Linked DNA regions of Homo sapiens: region 2 is linked to region 1. The links are contacts of gene promoters, found by promoter capture Hi-C in blood cells and fetal thymus (Javierre and others, 2016). All regions are on one chromosome and are shown on one strand. The core of a region is centred on a gene start or on the middle of the fragment in contact, and the rest is flanking DNA. Distances in the headings are between cores, read along the strand shown. Region 1 holds the start of MYO1F (myosin IF). Region 2 overlaps NFILZ (NFIL3 like basic leucine zipper).

Region 1 (7,496 bases), core at 1,730-4,229:
ACACCCTCCCCTGACCTGACTAGGGGGAGGATCCACCCCAACCTCTGCCCTGCCCGCCCCAGGGGCACCCCGACATCCAGGCCACCCCCTCATGGTGCTACAGACCCTGCCCTGGGGCCCACACACTCCTGCCAGGAAGCCCTACATCAATAAAGTTCTGTCTTGTGTAGATTTCTACGAATTGCGGTGTGTGTGTGTCAGTGCATCCAGTAGCCCCCACCCAGGTCTGGAAAGGACCACCCATTCTCCCAGGTCTACCCAACAGCCAAAAGGGGACTTCTTTTTTTTTTTTCCTGAGACGGTCCCTGTCGCCCAGCTATGCCTATCATAGCTCACTGCAGCCTTGATCTCCTGGACTCAAGTGATCCTCCCACTTCCACCTTCTGAATAGCTGGGACTACAGGCGTGCACGACCACACCCAGCTGATTTATTTATTTTTTTTTTTTATTTTTTTTTTTTTTTGAGACGGAGTCTTGCACTGTTGCCCAGGCTGGAGTGCAGTGGCACGATCTCGGCTCACTGCAAGCTCCGCCTCCTGGGTTCATGCCATTCTCGCCTCAGCCTCCCGAGTAGCTGGCACTACAGGCGCCCGCCAACATGCCCAGCTAATTTTTTGTACTTTTTTAGTAGAGACGGGGTTTCACCGTGTTAGCCAGGATGGTCTCGATCTCCTGACCTCGTGATCTGCCCGCCTCGGCCTCCCAGAGTGCTGGGATTACAGGCATGGGCCACCGTGCCCAGCCAGAAGGGGACTTTTAACATTGCAGACAGGAACCCAGGGATTTTAGGAGAAAAGTACAACAGCTTCTCGTGGAAGGGTTTTGCTTTTTTGTTTTTGTTTTTTGAGACAGGGTCTCACTCTGTAGCCCAGGCTGGAGTTCAGTGGCACGATCTCAGCTCACTGCAGCCTTGAACTCCTGGGCTTAAACGATTCTCCTGCCTACCCTGCCAAGTAACTGAGATTATAGGTGCAACAGCACACCTAGCTGATTTTTTAATTTTTTGTAGAGACGAGGTCTTGCTATGTTGCCCAAGCTGGTCTGGAACTCCTGGGCTCAAGCGATCCTCCCACCTCAGCCTCCCAAAGTTCTGGGATTACAGGCATCAGCCACCATGCCTGGCCCTCACAGAGGCTCTTAAAGCCACACGGTCTAGCACCTGCCACCCTGGCCATCACACTCTCCGTCACTCCGCATGCTCCAGCCACACCAGCCTCCCCGAACTTCCTCAATTGCCCTATGGTTTTCCCATATCTGGGCCTTTGCTTGAGCGCTTAGCATGGCCAGGTGCACGCTCCTGCCCCTTTACCTTTTTTAACTCCAGCTTACTCGCCGGTGTCAGCACAAACGTTGCCTCTTCCTAGAAGCCTCCCCTGATGGCCCCCAACAAAGTGGGGTCCTCTTACCCATTCATATTCACTCTTGAGTGCCTGGAGACATTGCTGAGAATTGCATGCCCCAAGCCCGTCAATTCTGCAAACTCGCTCAGGAGATTCCAGCAGAGACGGGCTCCTTCCCAGCTGTGGCCACTAGGGGCGCTGCATATTAACATCTTCAAGGGGGATGCGGGTTTATCGCCCTGGACCAAAGATAGATCTGAACATGGGTCCCCCAGGGTCTCCCAGGGTCGGGTCCTGCCTCGGCCACCTCCTTGCTGGGTGGTGTGGGGAAGTAACAACCTATTAGAACTGCCATTTCCTCACATGTCAAGAGGAGCCTCAGGTGGTTGGCTGGTGTCCCAAAGACCAGCTCATAGGCTGACACGTACCTGGGCCAGGCTCTGCTGGGGGGACCCACGTTCCCATTTTACAATGAGAAAAGGGAGTAACTAAGTCATCCAGGAAGTAGCCAAACTGGAGGCTGTTAAATCTAGATGTGACATCCAAAGTCAGGGACCTTTCAGATGCACCTGCTTCCCAGTACCCTCCACTTCTGCACACAAACACGTGTGACTTCTGAGGGTCATCTAAAGAGGGAGGTTGGGCCAGGCGTGGTGGCTTATGCCTGTAATCCCAGCACTTTGGGAGGCCGAGTTGGGAGGATCACCTGAGGTCAGGAGTTCAAGGCCGGCCTGGCCAACATGGCGAAATTCCGTCTCTACTAAAAATACAAATATTAGCCAGGTGTGGCGGTGGGCACCTGTAATCCCAGCTACTCAGGAGGCTGAGGCAGGAGAATCGCTTGAACCCAGGAGGCGGAGATTAAAGTAAGCTGAGATTGCACCACTGCATTCTAGCCTGGGTGACAGAGCTAGACTCCGTCTCAAAATAATAACAATAATAATAATGAAGGAGGTTGCCCAGGGATGCCCAGAGCAGACACAGCTGAAGAAGGCACCCTTCCCTGTTGTTGTTGTTTTTTTGGTTTTTTTGTTTTTTCTGGTTTGTTTTTAGAGACAGGGTCTCACTCTTTCGCCCAGGCTGGAGTGCAGTGGCGCAATCAGGGCTCACTGAGGCCTCCACCTCCCAGGTTCAAGCAATCCTCCCACCTCAGCCCTCTGAGTAGCTGGGACTGCAGGCTCATGCCACCATGCCCAGCTAATTTTTTTTCTTTTCATTTTTTGTAGAGATGGGGTCATGCTATATAGCCCAGGCTGGTCTCAAACTCCTGGACTCAAGCGATCCTCCAACCTTGGCCCCCCAAAGTATTGGGATTACAGGCGTGAGCCACCTCCCCTGGGCCCCTTCCTTGGTTTTAAAAAGAGACCCGGGAAGCCCAAATGCTTCCTGAATCGCCCTGAAAAGAGGTGGTTCGTCCTGCAGCCAGCTGACCCAAATGTTCCTGCAGCAGCCCTGTCCCCAAGGAGTTGGGGAAGAGGCCTCTGAGGTCCAGTAGTGGCTGCCATCAAGTTCTGACCCCTCCCTTCAGGCTCAGAGCCCCAAACAGCCAGCTCCCCGCCCCCCTCCACACCCAGCTTCCCTCCCCCATGGCCTCGGCCCCTCCCGCCAAAGGAAGTGAGAAGGGGCTGTTGTAAGAGGAACTAAAGCCGGGAGTCCGGTGAACGGGCAGAAGCAGGGCCATGCCCAAGCCACCCCCAAGATCCCCCTGAACCTGCACCTCCATCACGACCCATTCAGGAGCCTCCAGGAGCCCAGACACCAGCCCCCCACCATGGTAAGTCCTTCAAGGGTGGGATCTGGAAGAAGAAAGAGGAGGGACACCAGCCAGGTGGAGGTGTCCTAAAAATGACCATCAGAAATTGGGGTGAGGGGAGGGGCATGGTGGACTTCTGTGGGGGTGGGGTGTCTCTCAGTGCAGCTCAGGTGCCTCCAGCATCCCTTACCAGGGAGCAAGCTCCCATCTGTAGGTGGTGGGGATGCCAGGGTGGTATCCCTGGATCCAAGGATAGGGCAGGACCTGGAAGACAGAAGGTGGCCCAGGGAGAATCACAGAGTCTGCAGGGACAAGGACATAGCCTCCTTTGCTTGCAAATTAAGGGAGCCCTTTCCCAGTCCAGCCCAGTCTCTCGTCTCCCTGTGTAGCCTTGGGCTAGTCACTTCCCCTCTCTTGGCCCCGGTTCCCACAGATGTCATATTTGGAAATCCGTCTAGATGCGGAAGTTGCTCTTCAGGGGTCTTTCAGTTGCAACATTCTCAAGGTCTGTGGGTTCTGCCACAGAGTCCTCGGCTGAGATGGGAAGCTATGTCTAACAAGCGATGGGGTGGATTGACGCCCTCCCTGTGCCGGTGACGGGCGGTATGGCTGCAGCAGAGGCAGGAGAGGCTGAATACGTCCATGCCACCCTTTGGTGGGCATCCCTTATCCCAAGAGGAGGATGGCAGCCAGAGGTGTTGCTGCCTGTCAAGTCTGAGGTCTGTCGATGATAGCAACGGGGAGACTGTCGTGATCATGGCGCTATTCCTAGCAGTATCGTACCACCATAAGACGCAAAGTAAGAGGTGGCCAGGGCTGACCCCACCCCACAGCTCTCTGCTGTGTAGACCACTTCAGCTTTCATTTCTCGTCATTCAGTCAGTGAGGATGAGAGCATGTGGCTGTGACAGCGGCCACTGCAGGATTCTTGGCAGGTACAGCTTACTAGGGTGGAGTCAGGGACATAGGGCAAGAGGCAGAGGTGGTGTTAGTCTGAGAGACAACACCTTCTTTCAGGAAGCCAGTGAGGGCCAGGGACAGTGGCTCATGCCTGTAATCCCAGCATTTTAGGAGGCTGAGACAGGTAGATCACTTGAGGTCAGGTGTTCGAGACCAGCCTGGCCAACGTGGTGAAACCTCGTCTCTACTAAAAAATACAAAAAATTAACTGGGCGTGGTGGCACACGCCTGTAATCCCAGCTACATATGAGGCTGAGGCAAGAGAATAACTTGAACCCAGGAGGCGGAGGGTGCAGTGAGCTGAGATCCTGCCGCTGCACTCCAGCCTGGGTGACAGAGCACACTCCGTCTCAAAAAAGGAAAGCTGATGAGAAATTGGGCATCCCGGAATTCACACCCAAACCATCAGCTGGAGCTCTGAGACTGTTGGGGTGGGAATTCTTCCAAGATGAGAAGCAAGCCAGGGAGGCTCAGGTCCTGGGATGGGCAGGGCTTTGATCAAAAGAACACAGGAAGTGATTTGCTACTTGAAAGAAAGGCAACCCCTCCCCAAGGAAGCCCTCTGAAAATGCTTAGTCAACAGTCGGCTTGGCAGACAAGGTCTGGGAGGGGCCACCCGTATCGCAGAGGATGATAGAAGAGAAAAAAATGACACCCACCTCTGTCTGGGGATGCTGAAATCTTCCTGGAGGAGTGGTGAATGCCAGGAAGATCGCTGAAGGATTCAATGAAACAGTATTTCTGAAGTCCTTTACAACAGGGTCCCCAACCCCCGGGGTCATGGACTGCTATCGGGCCATGGTCTGTCTGTTAGAAACCATGAGCCCTATCGGGTCACAGAGCAGGAGATGAGTGGCAGGCAAGCAAGCCCGAGCTCCACCTCCTCTCAGATTCTCGGGGGCGCCATTAGATTATCACAGGATCGCAAACCCTGTTGTGAACTGCACACACGAGGGATCCAGGTTGCATGCTGCTTATGACAATCTAATGCCCGGCCGGGTGCGGTGGCTCACACCTGTAATCCTAGCACTTTGGGAGGCCGAGGCGGGCAGATCACGAAGTCAAGAGATAGAAACGATCCTGGCCAACGTGGTGAGACCCCGTCTCTCCTAAAAATACAAAAATGAGCTGGGTGTGGTGGCACATGCCTGTCATCCTAGCTACTCGGGAGGCTGAGGCAGGAGAATCGCTTGAACCCGGGAGGCGGAGGTTGCAGTGAGCCAAGATCACACCATTGCACTACAGCCTCGGCGACAGAGCCAGACTCCGTCTCAAAAAAAAAAAAAAAAGAAAAAGAAAATCTAATGCCGTTGGCAGGGTGCAGTGGCTCATGCCTGTAATCTCAACACTTTTGGAGGCCGAGGTGGGCGGATCACCTGAGGTCAAGAGTTCAAGACCAGCCTGGCCAACATGGCAAAACCCTGTCTCTACTAAAAATACAAAAATTAGCCAGTCGTGGTGGTGCGCGCCTGTAACCCCAGCTACCCGGGAACCTGAGATAGGAGAATCACTTGAACCCAGGAGGCAGAGGTCGCAATGAGACGAGATCACGCCACTGCACTCCAGCCTGGGCCACAGAGAGAGGCTCCATCTCAAAAAAAAAAGAAAGAGAGAGAGAAAGAAAGAAAGAAAAAGAAAGAAAGAAAGAGAAAGAAAAAGAAAGAAAGAGAGAAAGAGAAAGGAAGAAAGAAAGAAAGAGAGAAAGAAGAAAGAGAAAGAAAGGAAAGAAAGAAAGAAAGAAAGAAAGAAAGAAAGAAAGAAAGAAAGAAAGAGAGAGAGAGAGAGAGAGAAAGAAAGAAAGAAAGAAAGAAAGAAAGAAAGAAAGAAAGAAAGAAAGGGAAAAAAGAAGAAATAAAGGAAAAGAAAGAAAAGAAAATCTAATGCCCCGCTCCATGGTCCATGGAAAAATTGTCTTCCATTAAACCGGTCTCTGGTGCCAAAAATGTTGGGGACCATTGCTTTACAGAGCACATAACATGCACTTGATCCATGGTAGCTGCCATTAGCTGGGATGTCCATTCATTTCTGGATTCAGCAATGAGGATGGACGGAGGTGACGATTGTGGTAATTGGGGAGGAGTTGCTGCGAGTGGTCATTGCTGGGTTGTTGGTGTCATTGGTTGTGGTGGTGGTTGTGGCTGTTTCTTGTTGCAGGTTCGTGGTGATAATGGCTCTTGCAGGTGGGCTGGTGGTGGTGGCGGTTGGTGTTTAATGTTGTTCGTTGGTGGTGGATTGTTTTCAGCTGGAAATTCTGGAGATGCTTGGTGACCAGTGGAATGATGACCATCGGTGGTTGCTGTTATTTGGAGAGGAAAGGTGTTGGTAGTAGCGTTCATTTGCTGCTGGTAGTTTATTGTTGGTTTCTGGTAAGATGATGATCAGCAATGGTGGTGCTGGTTCAATGTTGGGTTTTGAACAGGATAGGACTGGTGACTGCTGCTTTCTGTGGTTGCTAATGGTAGTTGGTTATGTGTGGTTGTTGATGGCTAGTATTGTTTTTTTGTTTTGTTTTGTTTCTGAGACAGAGTCTCGCTCTGTCACCCCGGCTGGAGTGCAGTGGTGCAATCTCGGCTCACTGCAACCTCCACCTCCTGGCTTCAAGCAATTCTCGTGCCTCAGCCTCCCAAGTAGCTGAGATTACAAGCACCTGCCACCACACCCAGCTAATTTTTGTGCTTTTAGTGGAGACGGGGTTTCGCCATGTTGGCCAGGCTGGTCTCCAACTCCTAACCTCAAGTGATCCACCCGCTTTGGCCTCCCAAAGTGTGAGATTACAGGTGTGAGCCACTGTGCCTGGCCGATGACTAGATGGTGGTTGGTTATTATAGCGTGGTGGTGGTGGTGGTGGTGATCGTGGGAGAATGTAAGGAAGGCTGATGCTGGAATTGCTCATGGGACCTGTCTGACATTGGCTAGTCATGATGGTATTGGAGTTATCAGCAGTTTCTGTTTGTCTTTGAGAAGGGTAGGAGAGAGAGTGAAGACGTTCACTGGTTGCCTTTGGTTGGTGATGGTGGTCATGTGAGGATAATAGTGATTGTCTCTTCTTTTTTTTTTGAGACAGAGTCTCGCTCTGTCACCCAGGATGGAGTGCAGTGGCATGATCTTGGCTCACTGCAAGCCCCACCTCCTAGGTTCATGCCATTCTCCTGCCTCAGCCTCCCGAGTAGCTGGGACTACAGGCGCCCGCCACCATGCCTGGCTAATTTTTTTCTATTTTTTTAGTAGAGATGGGGTTTCACCGTGTTAGCAAGGATGGTCTCGATCTCCTGACCTCGTGATCTGCCCGCCTCAGCCTCCCAAAGTGCTGGGATTATAGGCGTGAGCCACCACACCTGGCCAATAGTGATTGTTTCTAAGGTACAGTCACAGGGCCAGGAACAATGGCTCATGCCTGTAATCCCAACAGTTTGGAAGACGGAGGTGGGAGGATCACTTGAGGC
Region 2 (7,496 bases), core at 2,455-4,954, 59 kb before region 1:
TTCACCCGCAAAGCACTGGCCCCAGGAAGGTGGGTGAGGGCAAGAGTTCAGCGGGCAGGAACTCAGGCCAAGACGCAACCATGAGAACAGAGGCCCTGGGAATTCACAAGCATCTCACAGAGGGCACCAGGCTTCCCACAGGTCGTGGGAGAGAGGCAGACGCCAAATCTCTGAGGCTCTATTGACCCCAGCTGACATCTGGGTAACATCTGTTATACAAAAGAGCCGGGACCCAGCCAAAACATGGCAACCCCAGTAGGGCTTTTAAACACCCAGCAGGGTTTTTTAAATAGTGTTAGAGAGATTCTTTCACAACAACAAACTCACTAATGGCCACCTGGCTCAGCTGCCGCCCAGAGACACCCAACACACACACGCCTACCGCATATAAAAATAAACTAATCCTTACCCCATGTGTGGTATATGCCAGACACTGGCCTATCACTTTACACATATTAATTCATGTCGTCCTTCCAACAACTCCTTCAGGTAGGTGCTATTATCATCCACCCAGCAGCCAGAGAGGACACCCTCAACACATCCCAGGGTAAAAGCTTGAGTACTTTCTGCAAATCTTTTTTTTTTTTTTTTAATTTTCTTAAGAGATGGTCTGGCTCTGTGACCCAGGCTGTATTGCTGTGGTGCGATCATAGCTCACTACAGCCTCAAACTCCTGGGCTCAAGCGATCTTCCTGCCTCCTGAGTAGCTGGGACTACAGGCACATGCCACCATACTTGGCTAATTGTTGCGTTTTGTTTTGTTTTGTTTTGTTTTTGTAGAGGCAGGGGTCTTGCTATGTTGCCCAGGCTGGTCGCAAACTTCCAGGCTCAAATGATCCTCCTGCCTCAGCCTCCCAAAGTGCTGGGGTTACAGGTGTGAGCCGCCATGCCTGGCCTGCCATGCCTGTAACTCTTGAGATCTTGCAAGCTCTCCTTCCCCACAACACCCACTGTCACCTCTCTGCCTTTGCCCTCCTTCCTCTCACCCCTTCTATCACTCTGCTCCAACCACATGGACCTCCTCACTGTTCCTTAAACAGCCAAGTAGGCCGGGCTCAGTGGCTGACACCTGCAATCCCACCACTTTGGGAGGCCGAGTCGGGCAGATCACTTGAGGCCAGGAGTTTGAGACCAGCCTGGCCAATGTGGTGAAAGCCTGTCTCTATTACAAATACAAAAAATTAGCTGGGCATGGTGGTGTGCGCCTGTAATCCCAGCTACTCGGAGGCTGAGGCAGGAGGATCCCTTGAACCCGGGAGGCAGAGGTTGCGGTGATCCAAGATTGTGCCACTGCACTCCAGTCTGGGCAACAGAGCGAGATTCCATCTCAAAAAAAAAAAAAAAAACAGCAAAGTAAATTCCTGCTTCAGGGCCTTTGCACTTGCTTTGCCCTCTGCCAGAAAGACTCTCCCCTCCCCTCCATCCCCCTAGAAGCACCTCACTCTCCTCACCTTCCCCGGGAGGTCCCCCCACCTCTAAAGCTGCAGCCTCTTCCCCATGTACACAAACGCAGCCCTACCACCCTGTGACATACTGCAGACTTGACCAACTCTTCATCTTTATTTCTGCCTTCCTGGCCCACCAGGGCAGGCATTTGGGTCTGTTTTGTTCGCCGCTGCAACCCCCAGTGCTTGGAATGGAGCCTGGCACGCAGGAGGTGTTCGTTCCGTAAATATTTGTTGAATGAATGAATCCACACTGAAAGAGGAAACGGGCAGGAGAGAAGTTGGGCAATTCGCCCAAGGCCCCACAGTCCTTAAGTGGCAGAAGCAAGACGGGAGCCCCCACAGTTCAACTGCACAGGCTTCCTAACCACTGTGTGAGGTTTTCCCCCAGGCACATCCCTTTGCACGCCCACAAATGCACACAGCGGCTAACGCACGTGCACACTCATGAACGCACGTGTAAATTCCACCACCAACAGGATAAGTGTGCGCACTTCTAGCATCACACAGCATAGCGTGTGACGCCTGGCTTAGCGTTTACCGCGGAATGGCAATGAGTTCGTTGTAGAATCTAGGGGTGAGTGTGCCTGTGCCCAATTCTTTCCATTTTTCTGTGTGTTGGAAAGAGTTTCTAATGTTGAGAAAATTTGACTTCCCATAGCATCTACTGATCTTTGCTCTATTAAGGTGGCCTGGCAAGGTCATGCTGGCACTAACCTGTGTTGGGGAAAGGTCTATGAAGTCCTTCTCTGTTCTACAAGAGCAAGGGGACTATGTGGAGGCTTTTTGTTTTTCTTTTTCTGTTCTTTTCTTTTTTTTTTTTTTTTTTTTTTGAGACCATCTTTAGTCTTGCTCTTGTCGCCCAGGCTGTAGTACAGTGGCGCAATCTCAGCTCACTGCAATCTCCGCCTCCCTGGTTCAGGTGATTCTCCTGCCTCAGCCTCCCAAGTAGCTGAGATTACAGGCATCTGCCACCATGCCTGGCTAATTTTTTGTATTTTAGTAGAGATGGAGTTTCACTATGTTGGTCAGGCTGGTCTCAAACTCCTGACCTCAGGTGATCCACATGCCTCAGCCTCCCAAAGTGCTGGAATTACAGGCGTGAGCCACTGCACTCGGCCTTTTTTTTTTTTGAGATGGAGTCTCACTCTGTCGCCTAGGCTGGAGAGCAGTGGTGCAATCTCGGGTCACTGCAACCTCCACCTCCCCAGTTCAAGCTATTCTCCTGCCTCAGCCTCCCAAGTAGCTGGGACTACAAGTATGCACCGCCATTCCCTGCTAATTTTTGTATTTTTAGTAGAGAAGGGGCTTCACCATGTTGGTCAGGCTGGTCTCGAACTCCTGACCTCAGGAGTTGCTGAGTTCTATGGTAACTTTGTGTTTAAGGTTTTGTTTTGGTTTGGTTTTGGTTTTTTTTCTATTGCCCAGGCTGGAGTGCAGTGGTGTGATCTCAGCTCACTACAATCTCTGCCTCCTGGATTCAAGTGACTCTCCTGCTTCAGCCTTCTGAGAGCTGAGATTATATGTGTGCGTCATCACACCCGGCTGGAGTGCACAGTCCTAGCTCACTGCAGCCTCGAACTCCTGGGCTCAAGTGATCCTTCTGCCTTGGCCTCTTAAAGTACTGGGACTACAGGTATGAGCCACCACATTCAGCCTTGCCCATTTTTTTAAAAACTAGGCAAGGATTTGGTTAGAATGAAGATTCTGGCCTCCCCTCCAGGCACCCTGTCCTATACCTCACCTGATTCGCACTTCTATATCTTCCCCTTGGCCCCAGCTCTATCCCTGACTGTCCCCCTCCAGTATCCAGGGGACCAGTGTCCTGTCTCTCCATACAAAAGCCTCCATATAGGCCAGGCGCAATGGCTAATGCCTGTAATCCCAAAACTTTGGGAGGCCAAGGTGGGCGGATCACTTGTGGTCAGGAGTTCGAGGCCAGCCTGGGCAAAAGGGTGAAACCTCACCTCTATTAAAAATACAAAAATTAGCCAAGCATGGTGGCTCACGCCTGTAATCCCAGCACTTTGGGAGGCCAAGGCAAGCTGATCACCTGAGGTCGGGAGTTCAAGGCCAGCCTCACCAACATGGTGAAACCCCGTCTCTACTAAAAATAAAAATTAAAAAAAAAAACATAGCTGGGCATGATGGTGCATGCCTGTAATCCTAGCTACTCAGGAGGCTAAGGGAGGAGAATTGCTTGAACCCAGGAGGCAGAGGTTGCGGTGAGCCGAGATGGCGCCATTGAACTCCAGCCTGGGCGACAGAGCAAGACTCTGTTTCAAAAAAAAAAAAAAAAAGATGGAGTCTCGCTGTGTTGCCCAGGCTGGAGTGCAATGGCGCAATCTCGGCTCACTGCAACCTCCGCCTCCCAGGTTCAAGCATTTCTCCTGCCTCAGCCTCCCAAGTAGCTGGGACTACAGGCGTGTGCCACCATGCCCAGTTAATTTTTGTATTTTTAGTAGAGACGGGGTTTCACCATGTTGGTCAGGCTGGTCTCGAACTCCTGACCCCGTGATTCACCCGCCTCGGCCTCCCAAAGTGCTGAGATTACAGGCATGAGCCACCGCGCCCAGCCGAAAATAAAATTTTTTTAAAAGGCTGGTTTTGGCTGGGTGTGGTGGCTCATGCCTGTAATACCAGTACTTTGGGAGGATGAGCCGGGTAGAACACTTGAGGCCAGGAGTTCAACACCAGCCTGGGCAATACGGTGAAACCCCCTCTCTACTAAAAATACAAAAATCAGCTGGGTGTGGTGGTGCGCACCTGTAATTCCAGCTACTCTGGAGGCTGAGACAGGAAAATAGCTTGAGCCCAGGAGGCAGAGGTGGCAATGAGCCAAGACTGCACCATTGCACTCCAGTTTGGGTGACAGAGCAAGACCCTGTCTAATAAATAAAAATAAATAAACAAATAAATAAAGAGAGAAAGAGAAAGTCAGAGACAGAGAGAGAGAATAAGGACTCATAGGTATTCACCGTAGAGAAATGGAAACTTACCCTCACACCAAAACTTGCACATCAACGTCTGGCACATTATTTATCATCGCCTATGAATTTGGGCATTCGTCACCAAAACTGGAAACAACTCACGTGTCTGTCAACAAATGAATGGATGCATGGTGACACATCCATACCAGGGACTCCTCAACAGTAAAAGAAACAAAAAATGCTACACCCAACAACGTGAATAAGCCTCAAATGCATTCTGCTGCCTGGAAGAAGTATGCGCCAAAAGCTGCCTATGGTACGATTCCATTGACATAATATCCTGGGAAAAGGCAGAAATATAGCAACAGAGAGGAAGTCAGCAGGGGCCAGGGGCTGGGACTGAGGGAGAGAAATTGACTCCAGAGGGGCACGCAGGAATTGCAGGAATTGGGAGGGAAAAAGGTATTCTGTATTTCTTTTTTTTTTTTTTTAATTTTTTTTTTTTTGAGATGGAGTCTTGCTCTGTTGCCCAGGCTGAGGTGCAGTGGTATGATCTCGGCTCACTGCAACCTCCGCCTCCCAGGTTCAAGCGATTCTCCTGCCTCAGCCTCCTGAGTAGCTGGGATTACAGGTGCCCACCACCATGCCCGGCTAATTTTTGTATTTTTAGTAGAGACAGAGAGTCACTATGTTGGCCAGGCTGGTCTTGAACTCCTGACCTCAAGTGATCCACCCGCCTCAGCCTCCCAAAGTGCTAGGATTACAAGTGTGAGCCACCAGGCCTGGCCGGTATTCTGTATTTCTATTGAGGTTGTGGTTATAGGGTTGTGTGGTTTGTCAAATATCACAGAATCGTATACTAATATGTATGGGTTTCACTGTCAGTAAATTACACTGGTTTTTTTGTTTTTTTGTTTGTTTGTTTGTTTGTTTGTTTGTTTGTTTGTTTGTGATAGGGTCTTGGCTAAAGTGCAGTGGGGCCATCTTGGCTTGATGCAGCCTCGACTTCCCGGATTCAAGTGATCCTCCCACCTTAGCCTCCCAATTAGCTGGAACTACGAATGCACACCACTATGCCCAGCTAATTTTCTGTTTTGTTTTTTGTAGAGACAAGGTCTCACTGTGTTGCCCAGACTGATCTCCAATGCCTGAGCTCAAGCGATCCGCCCGCCTCAGCCTCCCAAAGTGCTGGGACTATAGGCCTGTGCCACCACACCTGGCCAGTAAATTACACTTTAATTTTTACTTAAATGAAAGGAAAAAACATTACAATAATAAGGCCCAGCATTTTGGTAGGCTGAGGCAAGAGGATTACTTGAGGCCAGGAATTTGAGAGAGATCCCATCTCTACAAAAAATAAAAATTAGCTGGGTGTCACGGCATGCGCCGATAGTTCCAGCTACTCAGGAGGCTGATGTGGGAGAATCATTTGAGCCCAGACATTCAAGGCTGGATTGCACCACTGCAATCCAGCCTGGGCAACAGAGTGAAACCCTGTCTCAAAAAGAAAAAAAAAAGAGGCCAGGCAGGGTGGCTCACGCCTGTAATCCCAACACTTTGGGAGACCAAGGGGGTGGATCACTTGAAGCCAGGGGTTCAAGACCAGCCTGGCCAACATGGTGAAACCCCTTCTCTACCAAAGATACAAAAATCAGCTGGGCATGATAGCACACACCTGTAGTCCCAGCTACTTGGGAGGCTGAGGCAGGAGAATCGCTTGAACCTGGCAGGTGGAGGTTGCAATGAGCCGAGATGGCGCCACCGTACTGCAGCCTGGGTGACAGAGCAAGACTCTATCTCAAAAAAAAAAGGAAACAAGAAAGCAAGCAAGAAAGCAAAAAAGAGAGAGAGAGAAGGAAAGAAGGGAGGGAAGGAAGGAAGGAAGGAAGGAAGGAAGGAAGGAAGGAAGGAAGGAAGGAAGGAAGGAAGGAAGGAAGGGAGAAAAGTTATACTAATGATAACTGAGTAAGAAAGAAAGCTATACTCCCAAATCCACTTCCTCCCCTTCCACAACCTCCTGTCCAGCCTCGACATCTGTCTCTCCCTCCCCAGGACCCTGCTCCCTTGACCAGGAGGCAGGGGGCCTTGTCCCAGGACAAGAGCTGAGTTGGGCATAGCTAAGTTGGTCTTCAGAGGGGGCAGGAAGGGAGGCAGGAAACCATCCTCAGGGCGGCTGGAGGGCTCCTCCCACAGCAGCTGCAGGTGCACTTCCAAGAGCCAGAGGTGGGGGAAGGTAGAGAGAGGGAAAGGAGCTGGCCCTCAGAGCCTAGGCAAGGGTCCAAGGTCAAGGTGTCAAGTTCAAGGTCAAGACACCTTCCCTGTGCAGCCTCAGCTTAGCCGCAGCTTCCCTACCTCACTGCCAATAACACCAACTTTTACTGGAAAAGGGTCCCGATCCAGACCCCAAAAGAGGGTTCTTAGGTCCCCCGCAAGAAAGATTTCAGGGAGAGTCCACGGAGTAAAGTGAAAGCAAGCTTATTAAGGAAGTAAAGGAGGCCGGGCGCGTTGGCTTCCACCTATAATCCCAGCACTTTGGGAGGCCGAGGTGGGTGCATCGCCTTAGGTCAGGAATCCAAGACCAGTCTGGCCAACACGGTAAAACCCCGTCTCGACTGAAAATACAAAAAATTAGCTGGGCATGGTGGTGCACATCTGTAATCTCAATCAGTCAGGAGGCTGAGGCAGGAGAATCCCTTGAACCCAGGAGGCAGAGGGTGCAGTAAGCCAAGATTACACCACTGCACTCCAGCCTGAGTGACAGAGCAAGGCTCTGTCTCAAAAAAAAAAAAAAAAAGGCAGGTGCAGTGGTTCATGCCTGTAATCCCAGCACTTTGGGAGGCTGAGGCAGGCGGATCACCTGAGGTCAAGAGTTTGAGACCAGCCTGGACAACATGGTGAAACCCTGTCTCTACTAAAAATACAAAAATTAGCTGGGCATGGTGGTGTGTGCCTGTAATCCCAGCTACTCAGGAGGCTGAGGAAGAAGAATTGCTTGAACCTGGGAGGCGGAGGTTGCAGTGAGCCAAGATCGTGCCACTGCACTCCAGCCTGGGGGACAGAGCGAGATTCCGTCTCAAAAAAAAAAAAAAAGGAATAAAAGAATGGCTACTCCACAGACAAG

What was found. The method cuts DNA at HindIII sites, captures the fragments that hold promoters and counts their contacts. A CHiCAGO score of 5 or more calls a contact.
Region 2: a contact is called between a fragment that was not itself captured here and the fragment with the promoter of MYO1F in region 1, in 3 of 17 cell types (non-activated CD4 T cells, neutrophils and monocytes). The highest score is 6.2, in non-activated CD4 T cells.

Annotation. Positions count from the first base shown.
Region 1 is chr19:8,572,925-8,580,420 of GRCh38, reverse strand. It overlaps MYO1F (myosin IF), which reads left to right and starts at 2,979. Exons shown (of 28, transcript NM_012335.4): 1 at 2,979-3,114. The coding sequence starts at 3,112. ADAMTS10 (ADAM metallopeptidase with thrombospondin type 1 motif 10) reads left to right here. Exons shown (of 26, transcript NM_030957.4): 26 at 1-181. RefSeq lists silencers at 1,453-1,647, 2,868-3,017, 3,555-3,604 and enhancers at 3,725-3,904, 4,075-4,134, 4,475-4,534. The HindIII fragment of the contact is 24,150 bases long and covers 1-7,496 here.
Region 2 is chr19:8,632,695-8,640,190 of GRCh38, reverse strand. It overlaps NFILZ (NFIL3 like basic leucine zipper), which reads right to left. Exons shown (of 6, transcript NM_001378600.1): 3 at 4,445-4,541. Among named protein-coding and RNA genes, the nearest start is that of NFILZ, 5.8 kb to the right of the region's middle. The HindIII fragment of the contact is 6,295 bases long and covers 557-6,851 here.